Regions from separate parts of the Homo sapiens genome. Here all the other regions are linked to region 1. Evidence: promoter capture Hi-C in 16 types of primary human blood cells and fetal thymus (Javierre and others, 2016). All regions are on one chromosome and are shown on one strand. Each heading gives the region's core, a stretch centred on a gene start or on the middle of the fragment in contact. The rest is flanking DNA. Distances are from core to core; before and after follow the strand shown. Region 1 holds the start of MEF2C-AS2 (MEF2C antisense RNA 2). Region 2 overlaps LINC01339 (long intergenic non-protein coding RNA 1339). Region 3 overlaps LINC01339 (long intergenic non-protein coding RNA 1339). Region 4 overlaps LINC01339 (long intergenic non-protein coding RNA 1339). Region 5 overlaps LINC01339 (long intergenic non-protein coding RNA 1339). Region 6 overlaps LINC01339 (long intergenic non-protein coding RNA 1339). Region 7 has its middle 91 kb from the start of MIR3660.

Region 1 (2,795 bases), core at 178-2,677:
TCCAGCATGAAAGATGGCATACCGCTTTAGGTTTGAAATAGGGGGAAATACATGTGAATATTTATACATGAAGGCCATTGGGGAGGGCTGAGTCTTGGCCTGAGTATCTGTGCAGGTAAGTCATTCATAAGAAAACTAATTACCTGTGCATGTACTTGGACTTGTTTAATTGAATAAGCTGCATGTGTGCATACTTGCTGTTCTTTCAGGGTTTGCAATTATAGATTGAGTCTTTTTTAAATGATAGCTTGGGGGAATTAAAAGGTGGAAAAAAGCCATCGTGCTGCATAGCTATATTGCCAAGAAAGAGAATCCGATCCTATAAACAAGATTACCATTGCTTGAAATCTAACTCAAGGCCTGTATATTTTAAGCCACATCAACTGGTTTAATATAGCCAATTGTTTTATTTGTGTATTTGCTTTCATTTCAAAGTCAGGAATCAAGGATGCTTTTCAGTCAAGATAATGTGCCTTGTTTCCAGCCATATTAAGATAAAAATGAAACTCAGTAAATTTTGAATGCAGCCAATAAGGTACAACATACAACATGGTTGAAAATGTCTTCCTTGCAGAAGGCTGTCCATTGCTGTGTCTACCCATTTTAAAATATATATATTTTTTTCAATAAGAAATGCTAGAAAGCAATAGGGCGGGGAATGCCGCACCTCTCAGGCAATCAGCACAAAAATTATTTAGAAATCTTTGGAATCACTTCACTTATACATACATTATCTCGAAAGCACTGGCCCCGAACTGTGTTTCTGCTAATATGAAGTTAATTAGACAATCAAACTTTGAGCCTTGAGCGATGGGCACTACAGCCCATCAAGGTATGTCAAGAAAGAAAAAAAAATGTGTATTTTCCTTTATGACCAAACCAGGAGGTTATACAGCTGGCATTGCATACATGACAGATGTGCATATTTGTAACCTTAAATAAACAGAAGCAGGGAGGTAACTGTGTATATTATCTAGCAAGAGACAGCAGCAGACACTCGCCAAAAAAGACAGAAAGGGACAAGAGAGACACATAGACATAATAAAATAACAACAATAAAAATCCTCCAAAAAAAAAAAGAGGGAAAGGGAACCAATAAAATGACAAAATCTGAAATTCTCGCAAATTAAAAAATGCAAATATACCTTTACATATGCATCAGTATTAAAAATAATACACGCTGGAACCAACAGGAGCGAGAGCAAGAAGAGGAGGAGGAGGTGGAGGAGAAGGAGGAGGAGGAGGAGAGGTGGAAGAGGAGGAGGAGGAGGAGGAGGAGGAGGAGGAGGAGGAGGAGGAGGAGGAGGAGGAGGAGGAGGAGGAAAGAATGGAGGCGCCGCGGAGCCCTGATTATGCATGGGCTGGAGCTGCCTCCTCTAACCTGTTCTTCTCCGAGCCGGGCAGCCGGCGGTCCTCAGCCGCCCACAGAACAGGAGCCGAAACAACCGTTCTCGAAGGCTACAGCGTTTATTTTTCTCTTTTGGGGGGTTTTGGCGGTTGTTTCAGGGGCTCGCCAACTGGCCCCTTTAATTAAAAGCTTCAATAAAAGGCGATCGCGCCAGGAATGCACCCGCTCCTCTTCGCGCAGGATTTGCATATTTTTTTAATGCCCTAATTTCCTTGATGTATGTAAATGTAGCCGGACGTAGAGGGAGACAGGGAGCTGACGTCAATGGACGTGACCTCGCAGCTAAACCTTGAACGTGAAGCCGGGATGGGGGAAAACACGGAGCGGCAGCCGGCGGAGCCCGAGAGCGCGGGCGGCGGCGGCAGTAGCCGAGCCCAGGCCGGGGTGCCAAGGGACCAGTGCCGGCCCCGGGGGAGGACAAGCCGCCGCCTTCTTTCTGCACCGCGCGGCTCTCAGACTCGCCAGCCTTCCGGCCGCACACGCAGACTCTTGCCCTGAGCTTCCAGCCCCACCACACACACGTTCTTTTGCTTCCCTCAGAAAAGCAACACTCCCCAAAACAACAAACCAAAATCAACAGATAAAACAGATGTTTTAGACCAATGCTCGGGTAGCTTATCAGAAAGAAGACTCTGACCACGGAACATATATATTTTTTGGCTTCTCTCCACAAGAAGAGGAGCGAGAGACCACAGACAACAGCAAATCACTCCTAAAACACGATAACTACAAGTGCTCCCTGTAGGGAGAGGTAAATCGCCCAGCCGACTGGTGAAGTCTTCTGGTTTCGGTACCTATTTACCTGTGCACTCATTATGCGCCTCGGCTTCATTAACGGCAGGATCATGAGCGCGCGTTTTAATGTGATGGGAGTGCTGTGTTGTGTGTGTGTGTGTATGTATGTATGTGTGTTGGGAGGTGCTTGCGCTAGTGAGCACCGAGGCAGGCGCTCTGAGCAGAGAGAGATCAGTCTTTCCATGGCCACGTCTGGGACTCATCTGCGGAGCCATCTAGGCCAGGGCTCCTAGATTGGGGTTCGACTTCACCCCATGTAAAAAGAGAGGCCAGCAAAGGCTTCCCCTGAACAGCCAGGTCCTTCCCATCGGATTGTTTGAGGAAGGAGGCTTGAAGTGTGAGCCATTCTGTAGCCGCCGCCTTGCCGGATTTGGCCTGGTGTTTTGCACTTGAAACTCAGCGGCCTCAGCGCGGAGGTAGTGCCTCTCCGAGACGCGGCCGAGGCCTTGTCATTCCCCTCCTTCCGCCCGCGGCAGCCCTGCGCGCCGGCGTGTGCGTGCCCGCGCACCGGACCGCTGGCACCTCCCTGTGCACATCCGCCCCCTCCTCTGCTCGCCCCCTCCTCTGGGGCAGCTAAGAAATGGTCCTCGGC
Region 2 (2,795 bases), core at 149-2,648, 1.6 Mb before region 1:
GTCAGAATGGCTATTATTAAAAAATCAAAAAATAACAGATGCTGCTGAGACTGTGGAGAAAAGGGAATGTTCATACACTATTGATGGGAATTTAAATCAGTTCAGCCACTGTGAAAGGCAGTTTGGAGATTTCTCAAAGAATTTAAAATACAACTACCATTCGACCCAGCCATCCCATTACTGGGTATATACTCAAAGGAAAATCAATTGTTCTACAAAAAAGACATACACACTTGTATGTTCATCCCAGTGCTATTCACAATAGCACCTAAGTGCCCAATGATGGTGGATTGCATAAACAAAATGCCATACATACACCCCATGGAATATTACATAGTCATAAAAAGATAAAATTACGTCCTTTGCAGCAATATGGATCCAGGCTGGAGGCCATTATTCTAAGCAAAAATCACAGGGACAGCATGTTCTTATTTAGTGGGAGCTAAACATTGAGCACACATGGACATAAAGATGGAAACAACAGATACTGGGGACTACTGGGGTTGAGGGAGAGTGTGTGAAGGGTATGGGGTAAAAAACTACCTGTAGGGTACTATGTTCACTACTGGGTGACAAGATCATCTGTACTCCAAACCTTAGTGTCATGTAATATACCCATGTAACAAGTCTGCACTTGTATCCCATGAATTTAAAATGAAAGTTGAAATTATTTAAAACAAAAAAGAAAAAAGAGATGAATGAAGACATCACTGTATTTTCTTTCAGGCAGGTCACAATCTAGTGTGGTTGTGTGGAGTGCAAAAACAGGCAGTGGTTTACTAAGCATAGATACAGGGTGCTGTGGGAACATTTAGGAGAGACACAAAACCCAGGATAGGGTATTTAGGACAGGCATCTTTCGGAAGATAATTTTTTTTTTTTTTGAGACAGAGTTTCGCTCTTGTTGCCCAAGCTAGAGTGCAATGGCACAATCTAGGCTCACTGCAACCTCTGCCTCCTGGCTTCAAGTGATTCTCCTGCCTCAGCCTCCCGAGTAGCTGTGATTACAGGCATGCGCCACCATGCCCGGCTAATTTTGTATTTTTAGTAGAGACGGGGTTTCTCCATGTTGGTCAGACTGTCATTGAAATCCCGACCCCAGTTGATCCGCCCACCTTGGTCTCCCAAAGTGCTGGGATTACAGGCATGAGCCACTGTGCCCGGCCATGGAAGATAATTTCTCAGCTGAGTCCTGAAGAATGAATTGGTAGCAGGGAGGGAAGAAATTCTAGGCAGATAGAGTAGCCTATATCCTAAGACCCAAAGATGAGCTGGTGCATAGTCCACTCAAGGGATTTCAAAAGCTGTGGTTAAGTTTGGAGTGTTGAGTGAGTGTGGGTTGTAATGAGAGATGAGGTTGGAGGAATTTCAGAGGGTATAGATAATAAATCATAAAAAGCTCTACATGGAGTGATTTTATCTTAAGGCAATGTGAATCATTAGAAGGGTTTTATTTAGAAGGTGACTCTATTATGTTTGTACTTCTCTTGGTTTTGCAGACTATGCCATTTAAGTTCCTTTATTATGGTAGGTATTTACCTACAGGCTAGCCAGGACTAAGTTCAAAATAAAAAGAGAAGACTTTTTGGGTCTTTAATTAAAAATTCTTTTTTTTTTTTTTTGAGACAGAATCTCGATCTGTCACCCAGGCTGGAGTGCAGTGGCATGATCTTGGCTCACTGCAACCTCCACCTCCCCGGTTCAAGCTCTTCTCCCGCCTCACTCTCTTGAGTAGCTGGAATTATAGGTGTGTGCCACCACACCTGGCTAATTTTGGTATTTTTAATAGAAAGGGGGTTTCACCATATTGGCCAGGCTGGTCTTGAACTCCTAATCTCAAGTGATCCGCCCACCTCGGCCTCCCAAAGTGATTAGATGACAGGCGTAAGCCACCGTGCCCCGCTGTTAATTAGAAATTCTATTGCTTATGTGGCTCTCCCAGCTTCACTTCTTACACTGTTGATGAGGAAGTTGGGGTCCTAGTTGGGCCGGTGCTCTAGACTTGGTTGGCGGGAGCAGAGAGCTATGACTGTCAACGGAACTTCACTCTGGAGAGGTTTTACTGAAGGCTGTACTTTAAAGTGATCAGAGGCTCCAGCTGGTATTTCTAGCTCTCCCTAGATCTTCCACTGAGCAGATGCAGCCTCACCTTCCCCACTCAATATAGTTTTTGGTATTTTGGAGATCCTACCTGACAGGTGACTCCTTAGTTAAAGTTATAATTACTCTGGATGATATTTTAATTTTACCTGGCATTTTAAGCGCATAATATTTAAGCCATCTCTATCACTATCTTGGGTGGTAATGACGGTATTTTCTATGTATTTTGACTGGTATAAATAATGTCTGGCTTTTAACCTTATAAGCATTGTACACAATGAACCATATTCAAAGCCAAAATTATACACAACTAACCAGAGGTGGAATCATTAAATGCTTTCATGTGGGAAGGGAAGAATTCAGTGTAGAGAATGAGTTTGAAAGCAAGCTATTGGAGTGATCCATGTGAGGAACAATAGTGGCCTGACCTGACTTGGTAAGATGGCAGAAAAGTTGAAATGGCTAATGTATGAGCAAGTAGACATGGTAATGAATATGATGATAATAAGAATAGGGAACACTTACAAATAGCTTTGGTTTGTGCCAGGCAGTGTACTATGTTCCTTACCAAGGTTATCTTATTTTCTTTCTTTAATCCTCACAGCTGACTTTGTGAGTTACAGCTCTATCACTGATTTAGACACATCCCAACGTTGACTTGCATGGTGCTCTGACTCACCTTCTGAGCAATTTTA
Region 3 (2,795 bases), core at 205-2,704, 1.6 Mb before region 1:
TCTTGACTTATTCCCTAGCCTTCACTTATGTTTATGGGACAACTCTCAGTGCACCCCTAATTTCTATTTACTTGCTTGCCTGCTTTACTTACCATCCAGGCTCGCTGAATACCACTACCCTTGGTTGGTATGGCACAAAATGATATTTCTAATCTTTCTACTGTATTAGTAAACTGTTTAACATGATAAACTTCTTGAATTTCTAGTAATTGAGAATTTTAGGGTTTGGGTTCCATGAAACAAGTAATCACAAAGAAGACTATGTATTATTTAAATTTCATAACAAAATTTATGAAGAGTTTACTTATGTTGAAAAGGGTTATGTACAAAGGTAAAATTGAAAACCTTTCATCTTTTTGGGTATTAAATTTCTGATCATATTAGTAGAAAAAGAATCTCATTTATTGCAAACTTAATTTGTGCCACAAGGATCATTAGCTGTGATATCAGTGTGGCCACATCATAGTATGAGCAAATCATCACTTCCTTCTTTAGAAAAAAGTACAACAGTATAAAAATATGTTGGAAAAACAAAGGCTGTAGTTTTGGTTTACATATTCTAACAAGTTAAACCTGAAATATCGATATAATCTTAGAAACTCTAGTATGATAACCTCACAATAATTAAACATATTAAGGAGCAACAACTTTATATATATTTTGTAAATAACTTCTCCCAAGTTATATCAACACAGATTTATCAAAAGGATATTAGCATCAACTTAAACTTGATAATATTGCCCCTTTGCTGGTAGCTCTGTTTAGCTGACTGGGGTTTGTCTGGATAGCAATTAAGGCTCTCAGTTTAGAAAGCCTGATAAGGTTACCATCATTTCTAATAGCTATATTGTTTGGGCCATTGTTTTTGCCTATAGATAGTAATCCTCTTGCAAGGCTTAAACATTAATCTAATCTTCCCTTTATGCAGCCTCTAGGTCATCTTAGGTTGAATCTGTACTCATAATACTTTATTTGTGTCACAATATCCTATGACCCAAATCTTTCTTGAAAAGCTGCAAAATCCAAGAAATGGGGAAAATGGCAATATTATTAGTTGGCAATGGCACACATTTTCCTTTACAGAACTTTGAATTATGCCTTTTTAGCAGATTTATGATCACGCAGGGCACTGAGTCTTGCACAGCTGTGGTTTAACCTCAAGTACTTTTGTCACATTTTGTTTTTTTTTATAAAATGTGTTTCAATTCTGACATTTAGAAGATTGCAGCTTTGAAGAATTTGTGTGGACCTTCTGCAAGCATTTTATTTTGCTAATGAACTAAAATTGATCTCTGTAATTGAAAGATAATGATACTATTTGAGTGTAATGACTAAATACCAAGTGAAATTTTGCACAGATGAAATTCTACACAACCCTGGATATAATATGACTGCTTTATGTTAATTGTGAAATCACATTGTATAGCTTCTCTAAATTGTTTAATTACTAAAGTATAATAATAGATGAAATGAGCAGTGGGAAGGATGATAGACTGGACGCCTGCAGACTTGAGTTCCAATCTGGACATGTGAAACCTTGAGCAAGTCCCTTAATTTCCTTGGGACTCAGTTTTTACCTATAGACTTGGTAGAACAAGGTTATTTAAGGTCTCTTGCAGCTCTTCCATCTTTATGAATCTGAATCCCACCAAATTGATTTTTCATAGTCAGTAAAAAATCTGAACAAAGCTGAACTGTGAAATTTTTGACAAGCATTAACAGGATTGAACATGTTTTAGACGCTCAGTGTTCTGTAGGAGAAAAGAACAGTTAAGAACTACCCCCATCCCTAACCCACCCTATACATAACTGGTGTTTCTTTAAATTTGAAACTGCAATTTCCAGTTACTCTAAACTGGTTTTGTACTTCTTGTGGTAAGGACAGATAGAGAATGCTCCAACCTATCATTTCACAGGGCATGTTGCACTTTATAAACAGTAACGAACAGTGGGTTGGGTGGGAGATCTGGATCAGTTTGGGTGGTGTATAGTCCAGACTACACTAGATTTATCTTCGATACAGGCTCACAAATCTTACTGAGATTTTTTTCCCCCTGGGGAGTAAGAAAATAAGAGATGCAGAAAAACCCAACTGCTGGCAATACCAGGGAACCTGCTTTATTAAATTTTCCCCAGGGAGGTTCATTATTAAGCTCTGAAATATAAAATCTTACTATAAATGGCAGATGGGGACTTGTACTCTCTTTATTTGTAATATGCATATTTTACTAATTTCCTACTAAAATCAAACTTACCGATTCTCTCCCTCTCTCTCTCTCTCTCTCACACACACACACACACACACACACACACACACACACTTCTCTGTAGAATTTTGTGGGTGGACACGGAATATTAAATTGTACAGAGAATGTTCACATTCTCCTTGAAACAAAGATTAATGGAGGTTCTTACGTACCATTTGTATTGCCTTTGCATTTCTAGAGTCTATGTAAGATACCCGTGATGAAAACATCAGAGAGAAGATTTTAGAAACAGGTAAAACAGAGTTGCTGTTTTACCTGTTTACCAGAAAATATCTAGCTTTATTTTTACTGAGGGATAAAAATACTTTATGCACATACATTTGAAATGAAAAGGTATAAATAAAAATGCAGTTGTAGAACAGAAAACCTGAAATAATAGATTATAATTTATTTGCTTTAGTATTCACAGGAGGTTAGTTTTTAGCTGTTTACATTAATATTACGTTTTTTTTTGTCAGGTAACCTCTGAGTCACAATATTTGATCACACTTAACACTGTTTTTAAAGGACAGAATTTAGGGTTTTTTT
Region 4 (2,795 bases), core at 115-2,614, 1.6 Mb before region 1:
TAGAGCTTCCCAAAATACCTCAATTGTCATAAATCCTCACCCCTGGAACAACTGAGGAAGATTGACTCTGATTACCAAAGACAATGTCTCCAAACTACACCCAAGGAGACACAATCACAAAAACTATCATATCTTCCAATCTAGTCTCTATTTCGATTTCATAAGAGTCATTTGTTTTCCCATAATTCCCTTATCCCTCTCCTTCTTCATCTAATAAGATAGTATTTAAGTTCCAATTCTAACTGCTCCTTTGAGTTACATTTTTTTGTGAACTCCCATACGTACGTGTGTGATCAAAATCAGTTTTTTTTCTCTTAAAAAATAACCAGTTAGAAGAAATGGAGATAATATCTTTGACTTGTCAATGAAATCATTTTGCCTCTACAACTTTGTAACTCTCTCTGATTGAGTGAACCATCCAAAAGACTAATTTTCTGTACATTAATTCACATCTTCAATCAACTAACTTCTTCGGATAAATTGCATGTCCTTTTAAAACATTGGTGATTATGTCATACAATTTACTGCTTTAGCAAAGGAACTACTCAGAGTGGTGGGTAACTTTTTTTTTCTATGGGGAACCAATAATCATCAGCCAAGAAAAAAAAAGAGAGAAAGAAAAGACTTAACCCCCCCCCCAAAAAAAACCCCTCAAGCAGCTTAATATATTTTCTGAGAAACATACATATAAATGTCATAAATCATACAAAAATACAATTGTATATCATGTCCAGTGAAGAAATAAGAAACATTGAGACATTGAGGGAAAAGAGATATAGTAAGAAAGAGAGAAGACTTATTGGAGTAAGGGGTAAGAATAGGCCTTGAGAGGGAAGAGACGACAGAAAAAGGAAGGGTGGATGTAAGAACAGATTTTTTCTTCATTGTGTTTTAAATCCTTATGCTTTTTTGTTCTACTGCTTAAGCCTAACTTTCCTTTCCAAAAGCTCAAGAAACCATCTTTCTCCTATCTGACAGCTATCCAAAGCCATGACTGTTGTGTGGCTCCCAATACCTCTTTCTTAGTCACTCTACTGTTGTTAATAATCCATACCTCTTCCTCTCATCCTCTGCCCCGGCTGAAGGCCAAGCTTCTCCCAGTGCCCATACTGGGAACATGAGATACAGCACCTCCTTAAACCATCTCTCTTCTGGGGATGTATGTCTTGTTGCTTTTGCAGAGTTCATATTTCCTTCTTATACCATATATATATATATAATATATATATTTATATAATACATATATTATATATAATATGTATTTATATGTATATAAGGTATAAGAAGGAAATATGAATTTATATAAATGTAAGGGGTATAAATGCAAATTTGCTCCATGAATATATTGTGTAGTGGTGAAGTTTGAGCTTTTTGTGTATCCATCACCCAAATAATGTACATTGTACACATTAAGTAATTTCTCATCACCACATTCTCCTTCCCCCCTCACCCCTCTGAGTCTCCAGTATTTTTCATTCCACACTCTGTGTCCACGTTCACAGCCAGTCTTAGCTGGGCTTGGGACATACCTGCTCCTTTTCTGAGAATCTCAGAATGAAGTGTTGTACATGATGTAGGGACCTCAGCCATACAGTGAGAATTCTATTTAGGACATTTGCAAAAGTGGATAAGCTTATCAGTCAAGAAAGAGATGTTGGGTGGGCAATTACTAAGGAAGTTTGCCAGTGGCTTTAGTAAAATGAGGTTCATGACTGTTCAGTTTATTGTGAACAGTAAATAAATTCAGTTTATTTTCTGTATCCTTACCACCCCCTTGTCTATTTAAAACACAGCTTTGAGAGATAGAGAAAAAAGTGAAGCACCCTGGTTAATTTTAATGCAGGTAAGACCTTAAAGTGATTTCTTACCTTCTGTGGACTTTAAAGTCGACAATAATATGGCATGCACAGAATAACTCCCTAGATAATAAATCATTTTCCCATGAGATTGAAATTTCCAGAAAGCACAGTAAATGGCTTTTCACATCCTGTAGTCTGGAGTGAACTTCAGATGATGCCACCAAATTGGAGGGTTCATGCTACCTTAGTTGGGCCAAAACTCCAGTGAATGTCAATGGAGCCAGCACAGAGTCTACCTAGTCTAATACTTAGTGACTGCGTTTGACTGCCTCAGCAAGGCTGCTGTGTTGAAGCAGATTCCATTTGGAAATAGGCCAGATTCTTTGTGTCTCCTGGGGCTCTCTAGAATTTTATAGTGTATATTTATATTTGTATAATCAGCACATTTTCTAATTAAGTGGGAATTAGTGTGTTTTGCTAAGTATAGTTAAAATTATTGCACTTAAACATTGAACTAAAATATAGTAAAATATAACTTCTAAAATTGTGTGTAATGGTAATAATACATAGTGCTTACTGTGTATGAACACTCTTTTAAGTGCTTAACCTATGTTAGTTCATTTCATGCTCACAACTCTGTGAAGTTAATTTTTTAATTAACCTCAATATACATATTAGTATAATAAGCCAAAAAGAAGGTAAAAACTTTGCCAAATCACACAAAAATTCAAGATTATGCAAAAGCATATTTTTTTTCCTGGAAGCATCTGACACAATAAAATTCAACAGAAATTTATGTGGGCTGATATTTACAGGTGTTTTTGTAGGAAGAGGCAAAAAATCAGGAAATAGGTGAATGATTTAGAGGCTCCTTGAGTTGAGATTTAGTGACCAAGAAAGAAGGTTGGAAGACTCAGGTGGCAGTGTAGAAGGCAGAATAGAAATATAAAAGTGGAAAATTCAAGACAGAAGAAATATATCACTTGGAATTTTAGA
Region 5 (2,795 bases), core at 168-2,667, 1.6 Mb before region 1:
TGCATTTCTAAGAATGGAAAACTGATCATCTCTGACTTTCGCACCCCTGAGACAAGCTCAGAGGCACTGTGGGATCTCTGGAGTGTGGCAGGGAGGGGTGTGGGCAGGACTGAGCTTTCATTGGCCTGGCACCAGGCTGTAGGGCCAACCCAAAGGAGGGCGTGCAGGAATCCAGTCAGTGTGCAAGGGACTGTGTCCACTGGGCTTGATTTGGTTTGGCATCAGTTTCAAAGTGCTCACAATAATCTTTATGGCTGGGTGGGGGCACTCTGCTTCCAAGGAGCCCAGCCAGGACTTGGAAAAGAAAACGCTGCAGTCCAGATTCCAAACCAATAAGACTGAAATGGGCCCAGGAAAGCAAGGATGATCCTAGGGGGCAGGAAAGGAAGGGGAGATATAGTCAGTGTTGGGGGACTGTAGTTCAAAGGCAGCACAAGTGTTTGGGATTTCCCCCAGGAGTTTCTCACACCAAATTCAGTTCACAAGGATTAATATCTCTAAACTCCACTTCCCTGCTGAGGAAGTGATGCCTAAAACACTACCAAGCTTTGCTGGAACAGTCACAGGGCAGAGCTAGGGGTAGCAGAGACCCCTTTGTTTTTGTTCACAGTCAGGCCGGAAGCATTTTTAGAGGGCGTAGTTTAGTTGTGTGTGTGTGTATGTGTGTGTGTGTGTATGTATGGTGTGTATGTAACTTAAAAACAAAGTTTTTAAGGTTTTACATGGGTATTCTAATAACGTATACAATGCTTTATGAAAGAGACTGGGATATGTGGGGAAGTTCCATGGCACTGAATCCAGATAAGAGATTTAACTCCTTAAAGATTGAAACTCAGTGCCTTTACATAGAAAGTGGGAGTGAATTCAGAAGCATTTTCTGGTGGCTTCTTTTTTCCTTTTTAAAGGATGGTTTATTCCTGCCTTACAAATTTTAAAAAGTTGCAGAGGTTTGAATCTGTATTTTATTTATAGTTGATATCTACAGTTTTATTCTGAAATGCTTTGGCTCAGAGCTTGGAAAGGGGAGGATTTACAATTAAAAAATATACAGGAGTGAAAGCTATAAAGAAAACTCATGACAAAGGCACAAGCATTTGCATTTCATGTGTGTAAATGCCTCATAAAGTAATGAAACCCTTTATGGTATTTCCCCATATGAAACAGAAGTTGAAAGTTTCTAATCTGTCTCTAACTCTGCATTCTACAAAAATTTCATAAGGAACTTTTGGGTTTCTCTAAAAAGAGATGGAAGTATCTCTTTGGATCAGTTGTAATAGGAGGGAAAAATTAGTTAATTCTCTCTGTAGTGGTTGAAAACTGGAGGTTGCTGTAAGGACAAATGCATGCGAGTGCCATGCCAGGGCTGCTTGCAGAGAAACTCATATGCTTGGGTTCAGTGTTTGGCCTCAGGCCAAAGGCTGCAACTAACAGGAAAGTGTCAGCATCTCAATATAATTGCATGTCCCGGAGCCTATTATTGCACTAATAAAAATGCTTTTCAATAAATCTGAAAAAGGAAGAGGAAAAAAAAAACCAGGAAGAAAGAAATTGCCTGAAATGTTTTATTATATTTAATAAAATTCTCATTAATGGAAAGAGTAGCTTTCTGCTAAATAAATGTGCTTTAATTTTATTTTCTGATTAATTTGATTTGAAGGAAAATGTTAGTAATACTTTTTTTTCCAGTGTACTTTCTTAAAATTAGAGTAAAAGGCAAGTAGATATCATTGTGGGTGAATGTTTTTTGAAGGAGAAAAGGAGGCAGGAGGACCAGGGAACCAGAAGCCTAAGGTTTGGTTGGTAATTATGTCACTGATGGATTAGTGACTGGGAAAATGATTTAACCTTTCCATCCGCATATGTAAAATGTTAGTTTCATGCCTACAAAAATCTTTGACATACTAAGAATGTCAAAGGTATTTGCCATGTATACTATTATTTAAAATGGATGCAGTAGAGAGTATATTTACTCACTGACAGCTATCTTGATCACACCCAGTAGCACATCTGAGATATTTTTCTCTTATGTGTTTTTCAGATCAATAATGAATATTTGAGACATACTTATTTAAAAAAAAGCCACCTGAGTTTTCTCATAGGAATAAGCCCTAATAATTTCAGTGTATAAATGCAATCTATAAAGATTTTTTCTCTTATGCTTTCTATAAAACAAAGAAACACAAAAAAGAGAAATAATGATAACTAAATTTGTTGTTCATTTACAATAGACAATGTTCACAGTCATAAAAAGAAGGACAGGAGTGGAAATCTTTTTATAGTAAGCTTCTACCACGAACCAGATGGTTATTTACATTACCTTTTTTCTTAATGTTTAGGAAAATTTCTGACACACAGTAGGTACTCAACAAATACTAATATTTATTGGATGAATGAATGCTTCTTGTTTCTTTTCTTATTCTCAAAATAACCTTATAAAGCAAACCTTATCTACATTTTACAGAAGAGAGTGATGTGGAAAAGTCTAAATATTTGATTATGACCAGACAATTAACAAACGGAAGAGCCAGAATTTGGGCACTAATTTGTCTGTCTGTCTGGAAAAAAAAAACAAACAAACCTGACATCATGAGATCACCTGCTCACTTTGGACTCAAAGGATCTGGTTAGTGCCTTCTGTGCAAAAGCTATTCCTGAATGAACGCATGAGATGAAGGGAGGTGTTGAATGCCTCTCCTTGGAGGAGAAGCTAGTTGGCTGGCCTGGCTTGTGTTGGTCTTTTGGGACAGTGCCGAGCCACAAGAGCATTTCTTACACACAGTCGTGGATATGAGGAG
Region 6 (2,795 bases), core at 194-2,693, 1.5 Mb before region 1:
AATGCATATATGAGATGAAATACAGAATAAGACAAAAGTAAATCTCATAGTTTTTTTTTCTGAAACATGTAAACATGTGTAAAAAATAATCCAAGAAAAATAGGTCTCTGCCAAAAAAGTAGAACCAAAAATAAGAGGATAATAGACGGGTAGGTTTAATATCAACCATAGCTAAGGAAAGGAAAGGAAACGTAGCTTCCCATTTTAAAGTACAGTGGAAATGGAAGGAACCAGGAGTACTTCTCTGATTTGGTTCTGGGGTAGACGGTGCTATAGGGCCATCCTGAGGAAAGTCTGTTCAACATCATGAGTGTAGAAAATGAGAGAACAAAAATTAGAGGGATTTTTGTTGTTGCTTTTCTGTTATAAATATTTTTATCCAAGCCTGAATATTTGAGAACTCTTTGGAGACTAAGCATATTACTTCTTCCTCAAATACTTGTCAGGTTAACGTTGTTAGTACATATGTAATTGCTTATTGACATTTCTTCATTTGTTCCCCCACTTATTTGGCACTGCATAAAAGACACCATGCTCTGAGGGAAGGTAAATGCCTGTTTGCCTGCTACTATGAGTGAGTTGGCCTGAATTAAAGCAGACAAGGAAATAGATTGCTTGGATTGGAACTTCTGTTTTTACTATTGTCCAGGCAGGCTTGGTTAACCCAGAAAGAGAGAGCAAGACAAGAAAGTTGATGTACATGTATGTAGGAGAATATGTCAGAGGAATATATTAGATGAGGCATAGGAATGGGAGTATATGTAAGGTAAAGAAATTTGTTTAGTTTTAAACATGTTGGGATTTCATGGGTTGAGGCAATAAAGTGTAATTGGGACAATGAAACTGAAGCTTGGGTGGAAGTTTATGCCCAGAGACAAATGAAAATCACTTACAAAAGACAGTCAGTGAAGCTGGAACAACTGATGCTATTTCAAAAGGAGAGAGTACAAAGGCAGAGCAGAGGACCTGGTACTGAGCATTGGAGGAAACCTCTATTAAGGGGTATTGAAAGCGGATCAGCCCAGAAAAAGAATGAAATAATCAGAACAGTAGGATGAGAAGAAGAATGGTGTGTTTCCATGGAAATCATAAGAAGTTCAAGGAGATTCTTTAAAACGGTCCAATGTTATAAAACTGTGAAGATCTTCAAGCACTGTGCTTTGTATTCTAATCTGCCTATTTCATGACACATGGATGAGGCTCAATAAATGTTTGCTGAGTGTGTAAATAGTCTAGGAACATAAGAAATGGGAAAATAGAGTGATTATCTTTTAAGTGAAATTGTAGTAGATTGGGATGAAGCAGACACAGGTTTAGGGATTTAAGGAGAGAATGAGAATATAGGCATAGAAACAGTTGTCCTAGACCACACTGAGAAATTTGGGTAGGGAAAGTGATGCATAAAACAAATCTTATCAGAGGAACAGAAGAATCCAGTTAAGAGATATTATAAATTCAAATAGACCTTTGAGTGACTAAGGGTCCAAAGGAAGAAGCCAGTGGACAGATAGGAATTTAAAATATTGCAAAGAAACTATTATATAAGGAAAATACATGTATCAAAACTTTTCTATCTGGGAAATTATAGAAACAGCATTTACAGATGTACTTCTTTGGATACAATGCCAGAAACATATTTCAGATTGGTCTACTTCCAGTCATAGTAAAGTTCAGAACCTTAAACCACTGGATTTTGCAACTTCAACAGCCTCATCTTCCTTATTTTGCAGAACAGAGCCCATGAACTAAGTTTGATATTAAAGACAAGTTTAGTTCAAGAATTGGCAAAAATAAGGATTAGCCAAAGTTAAAGTTACTTTCAGTTTGGTTTACTAATGAACTGAACGATGCAAAAGATATACACAAAATTCTGGGCACAAGAGTAGATGCAACTTATTGATGCTCCCTTTGCTTTTATTAGTTGAGGTACAGCTTAACAAAGTAGCCCTCATCCACAGTGTGTTAACAGTGATTGAAGTTTATTTCTCTCATGGAAGAGTATATAGATGAATGATCCAAGGCTGTCAGGAAAGCTTTATCACCCAAGGTTGTTTACCCAAGGTTGCTAAAATTATCATCACTTCTTAGCCATCAACAGGGGGACAGAGAAAATTCAAGGCAAACCATCTGCATAAAGGTGCATTGGAAGTTGTACACATCCTTTCCACTCACATCCTGTGAGACCAAACTTCGTCATATGAGTACACCTAGCTACAAGAGAGGCTGAGAAATGTAGTCTGTAGCTGAGCATCCATTGCTGTTACCGAATTTTTATTCTTCACAGTCCTCAATTAACATTGCTGCTCCAAAGCATTAGTTAGGTATTTCAGATGAGAGAACTGAGGCAAAGAAAAAGACAAGCAAGATGAATACTTGCTGAAACATCACGAAATACTGAATACATATGAGAGAGATTAAGTACAGATTTACAGAGGTGTCTATTTAAAATGACAATTCTATTTGGGTGTCTGTTTAAGTTTCTACCATGCAGCATTTTCAGCCAGTTTGTGTCTGTTGTCTCTGGTCAATTAAAATTATTCAGCATCAAAATCCTAGCTCTAGGACCAAAAAGAAAAAAAAAAGAACCTAAGAAGCATTCACTGATAGTCTGATTCTGAACAACCGCTTTGCCTCTGGTCTATTCATGCATATTTCAATTGGCATTAATATAAAGTACCAAGTGGGCTCTCTTCTACATGAAATCCTTGTTCTCAACTTGGCAGCAATCCTGGCACTAGGTTCTAAATCGTCATTCTGGGATGGTAAATCAGCAATCCTCAGCTGATGGGTCTAAC
Region 7 (2,795 bases), core at 147-2,646, 1.4 Mb before region 1:
TGTTTAAATTATTAGAAGGCATGAATTGTAAATAAACTCCCTACAGATCTAGTAAGATCTTGAATTTTGGGAACCCTTTACTTATTGCATGGGGAAAATATATGCAAACTTCACTCATTCATTCAAAAATTTCTTGAATGAGAAAATCAGAAAAGCATATATTCGGTGATCCATAAAACTGTATTTCTTGACTAAGACACAACCTTGAATAAGCTCAGATATGGCTTATACTGTAAAAGGCCTTACTCTGAAAAGTAGAAAAAAGAATGTGAATCAAACATCAATTGCTCTTTTATTGTGTAAAAGGCAAAGTCCTGTGTGATGAGGAGTAACAGTCAGAAGTAAGACACTATTCTTGCCCCCATCAACCTTAGCACTTTAGTATCTACACTAGTCTTAGATCCATCAGAGAAGAGGGAGGAAACTTATAGGGAACAAAAGGATCAACAAAATTGATTCTAACTTTGAGATTTTATAAGCTCTTTCTTTGTCCAATAAGTAACAGGAAACCCAAACTGATTTTTTTTTTTGCAGAGGAGTGCAAGATGGTTAGTAGTTTGGGTTTTGAAGTTAAAATGGCCTGTGTTTAAAATATAGTTCTACCATGCAACAGCTGTGTTACCTTGGATAAATCTCTTAATCTCTCCAAACCTCCTTTTCTCTGCTGTAAAATTAGGACTTTAATGGTATTTATCTTATAGTGTGAGAATTAAATTAGATAATATATGAAAATTGCTTAGCATAATGCTGAACACATAAAAGACATTCAATAAACCTCTTTTCTAAAGAGTGTTTTTAGAAAATTAACCTGGTACTGACATTGAAATTTAATATGCAATTGAGATTGTGGAAGTTTAGGAAATGCTGCTTTGTATGAAATTGGGAATTTTATAAAATGTTACCTTATTTTATCATAATTTAATAGTCATTCCAACTCAGTTGTGCCAAAAAAGGGGGAAAAAAGTCATACTACTTTTGGACATAACTATCTCAGTGTGATCTAATAGCTGCTGCTCCCTTTGGGGTGTTTTACATACTTTCACTAAGGTAAAATATGTGTTTTAAAAAAGAAAAAGTAGCTTTATTCATTTCGCAAAGTTTTGTAAACATTTAAAATAGTTTTTAAAACATTTGGTGAATTAATATTATGTATTGACTATTGTAGGCATTCAACTGAGATAGAGAAGGGATTTGAAAATTTTGTTTCTTGAATGGGAAAAAGGATTGAAGAATAAGGGCCCATTTATTAAAATTCCAGAGGTTTAAAAAGTTATTTTGGAAATCTTAATTGTGAGAAGTTGGGATACCGTGGTTGGAAACAAAATCTCTTCCTCAAGAATCAGGATTTAAATTGTGAATTTCACATTTTAAGATGTACCTGTCATGTCATTGTTCACATAGAATCAACATCTTTCTATTACTGGATTTCTTCCAGAGACATTTTTAGACAATGCTTTTTCTAACACATACACATTTACAAACACAAAACTTTCAAATGTAAGCAACCACCTCACTCTCTCTGCATTGATGAAATCTCGATAAAGACAAGACAAAATGCAGAAGACCAAAATATCACATATTTATAAAAAATTTATGAATCATTCCAAAACTTTATGAAAGTAAGCTGTTTTTTTTTTGTTTTGTTTTGTTTTGTTTTTGTTTTTTTCCTTTGTAAGCATGCTTACTTTTCTATGGATTAAAAGTGCTGACAGCCAGTCTGGAGGAAGAAATTGTGTTTGGCAGGATTCATTTGCAATTAACTAAGGGAGACCATTCTTCAATGGTAGGTTCACCTAATGGAGTGGAGTTGAGTTTCACCCACAATTATTGAATGCTGACAATGTGCCCTACTTGTACCACATGCTGGTGGAGACATGAATAGGACCCAATACTGGAAAGTCAAGGAGCTAACAGTTTCGTGACAATGCTCTCAACTGAGGCAGCTACCACAATATCTGTATCTTTGAGCAGGGCAGCAAGTACACTATTACTAATAATAGTCAAAGTATACCTTCAGGAATGACAACTTTTCATCTATCTAAAAGGATTCAGTGTTATTCCCACAGTGAAATCTCTTGCATTCAGGTACATTCTGACATGTTTTGAGAGGAGCAACAGAAGTTATAGGTAGAGCTTGAATGTATAGGTAGAACTACACGGATTCAGTACCCTCTAGTGAGTGGTCACTATTACCACAAGGTTAACAGTGTGTGCTTAAGGCAGTTTTGTAGCAGTTGTAAATTTTGACGTAACAGTTACCTCCATTGTCTTTTAAATTTTATCCATGAATAAGTTTTTAATGAAAAGAAGATGAGACTAGATAAAGCAAGGGTGCTTACAATATTAAATACATATTTGTCTTATTGAGAAGAATGATGCTCTTTATATAAAAAGAGGTTACAGCCTGTACATTCTATATATTGTAATAAAAATATTTATTTACAAATATCCTTTAGTATTATAATTACTAACATTGATATTTGTTGAATTCTAGAAAGTTCAAAATTCATATTTAAGAAATGTTTCATACTAAAGACAATATTAGCCACATTTATTTCTTTTTAAGAATAATTTTTGAGATCTTTAAAAATATGATTTAATTCTCATGCTTTAAAAACACTTTTTTGAATTCTATGTTAACATAAAAAAAAACAATATTTTTCTGATTTTTCTTTTCTTTTCCTTTTTTGAAACCTGTTTTTTGAACAAACTTTTTCCATGGAATTGTGTAGCTTATATAAGCATCATCTGATATGTGGAATACAATGCGGGGGAAAAAAAGAGTTGAGACACTA

Evidence for each region. Contacts are between HindIII fragments. The CHiCAGO score rates a contact against its expected background, and 5 or more counts as called.
Region 2: a contact is called between a fragment that was not itself captured here and the fragment with the promoter of MEF2C-AS2 in region 1, in 1 of 17 cell types (neutrophils). The highest score is 10.8, in neutrophils.
Region 3: a contact is called between a fragment that was not itself captured here and the fragment with the promoter of MEF2C-AS2 in region 1, in 7 of 17 cell types (naive B cells, monocytes, neutrophils and 4 more). The highest score is 14.5, in naive B cells.
Region 4: a fragment that was not itself captured here is called in contact with the fragment with the promoter of MEF2C-AS2 in region 1 in 1 of 17 cell types (M0 macrophages); the score reaches 5.1 in M0 macrophages.
Region 5: a contact is called between a fragment that was not itself captured here and the fragment with the promoter of MEF2C-AS2 in region 1, in 1 of 17 cell types (neutrophils). The highest score is 11.8, in neutrophils.
Region 6: a fragment that was not itself captured here is called in contact with the fragment with the promoter of MEF2C-AS2 in region 1 in 4 of 17 cell types (monocytes, neutrophils, naive B cells and 1 more); the score reaches 7.6 in monocytes.
Region 7: a fragment that was not itself captured here is called in contact with the fragment with the promoter of MEF2C-AS2 in region 1 in 1 of 17 cell types (neutrophils); the score reaches 7.2 in neutrophils.

The regions. Positions count from the first base shown.
Region 1 is chr5:88,674,850-88,677,644 of GRCh38, reverse strand. MEF2C-AS2 (MEF2C antisense RNA 2) reads right to left here and starts at 1,427. Exons shown (of 4, transcript NR_146284.1): 1 at 1,382-1,427. All of the region lies in intron 1 of MIR9-2HG (MIR9-2 host gene), which reads left to right. RefSeq lists enhancers at 1,353-1,918, 2,356-2,455. The HindIII fragment of the contact is 5,913 bases long and covers 1-1,539 here.
Region 2 is chr5:90,285,772-90,288,566 of GRCh38, reverse strand. All of the region lies in intron 1 of LINC01339 (long intergenic non-protein coding RNA 1339), which reads left to right. Among named protein-coding and RNA genes, the nearest start is that of LINC01339, 2.9 kb to the left of the region's middle. The HindIII fragment of the contact is 6,899 bases long and covers 1-2,795 here.
Region 3 is chr5:90,268,878-90,271,672 of GRCh38, reverse strand. All of the region lies in intron 1 of LINC01339 (long intergenic non-protein coding RNA 1339), which reads left to right. Among named protein-coding and RNA genes, the nearest start is that of LINC01339, 20 kb to the left of the region's middle. The HindIII fragment of the contact is 8,813 bases long and covers 1-2,795 here.
Region 4 is chr5:90,248,257-90,251,051 of GRCh38, reverse strand. The region is part of intron 3 of LINC01339 (long intergenic non-protein coding RNA 1339); the gene reads left to right. Among named protein-coding and RNA genes, the nearest start is that of LINC01339, 40 kb to the left of the region's middle. The HindIII fragment of the contact is 541 bases long and covers 1,094-1,634 here.
Region 5 is chr5:90,225,238-90,228,032 of GRCh38, reverse strand. The region is part of intron 3 of LINC01339 (long intergenic non-protein coding RNA 1339); the gene reads left to right. Among named protein-coding and RNA genes, the nearest start is that of LINC01339, 63 kb to the left of the region's middle. The HindIII fragment of the contact is 1,737 bases long and covers 549-2,285 here.
Region 6 is chr5:90,170,552-90,173,346 of GRCh38, reverse strand. All of the region lies in intron 4 of LINC01339 (long intergenic non-protein coding RNA 1339), which reads left to right. Among named protein-coding and RNA genes, the nearest start is that of LINC01339, 120 kb to the left of the region's middle. The HindIII fragment of the contact is 1,184 bases long and covers 852-2,035 here.
Region 7 is chr5:90,106,444-90,109,238 of GRCh38, reverse strand. No RefSeq gene overlaps it. Among named protein-coding and RNA genes, the nearest start is that of MIR3660, 91 kb to the right of the region's middle. The HindIII fragment of the contact is 7,922 bases long and covers 1-2,795 here.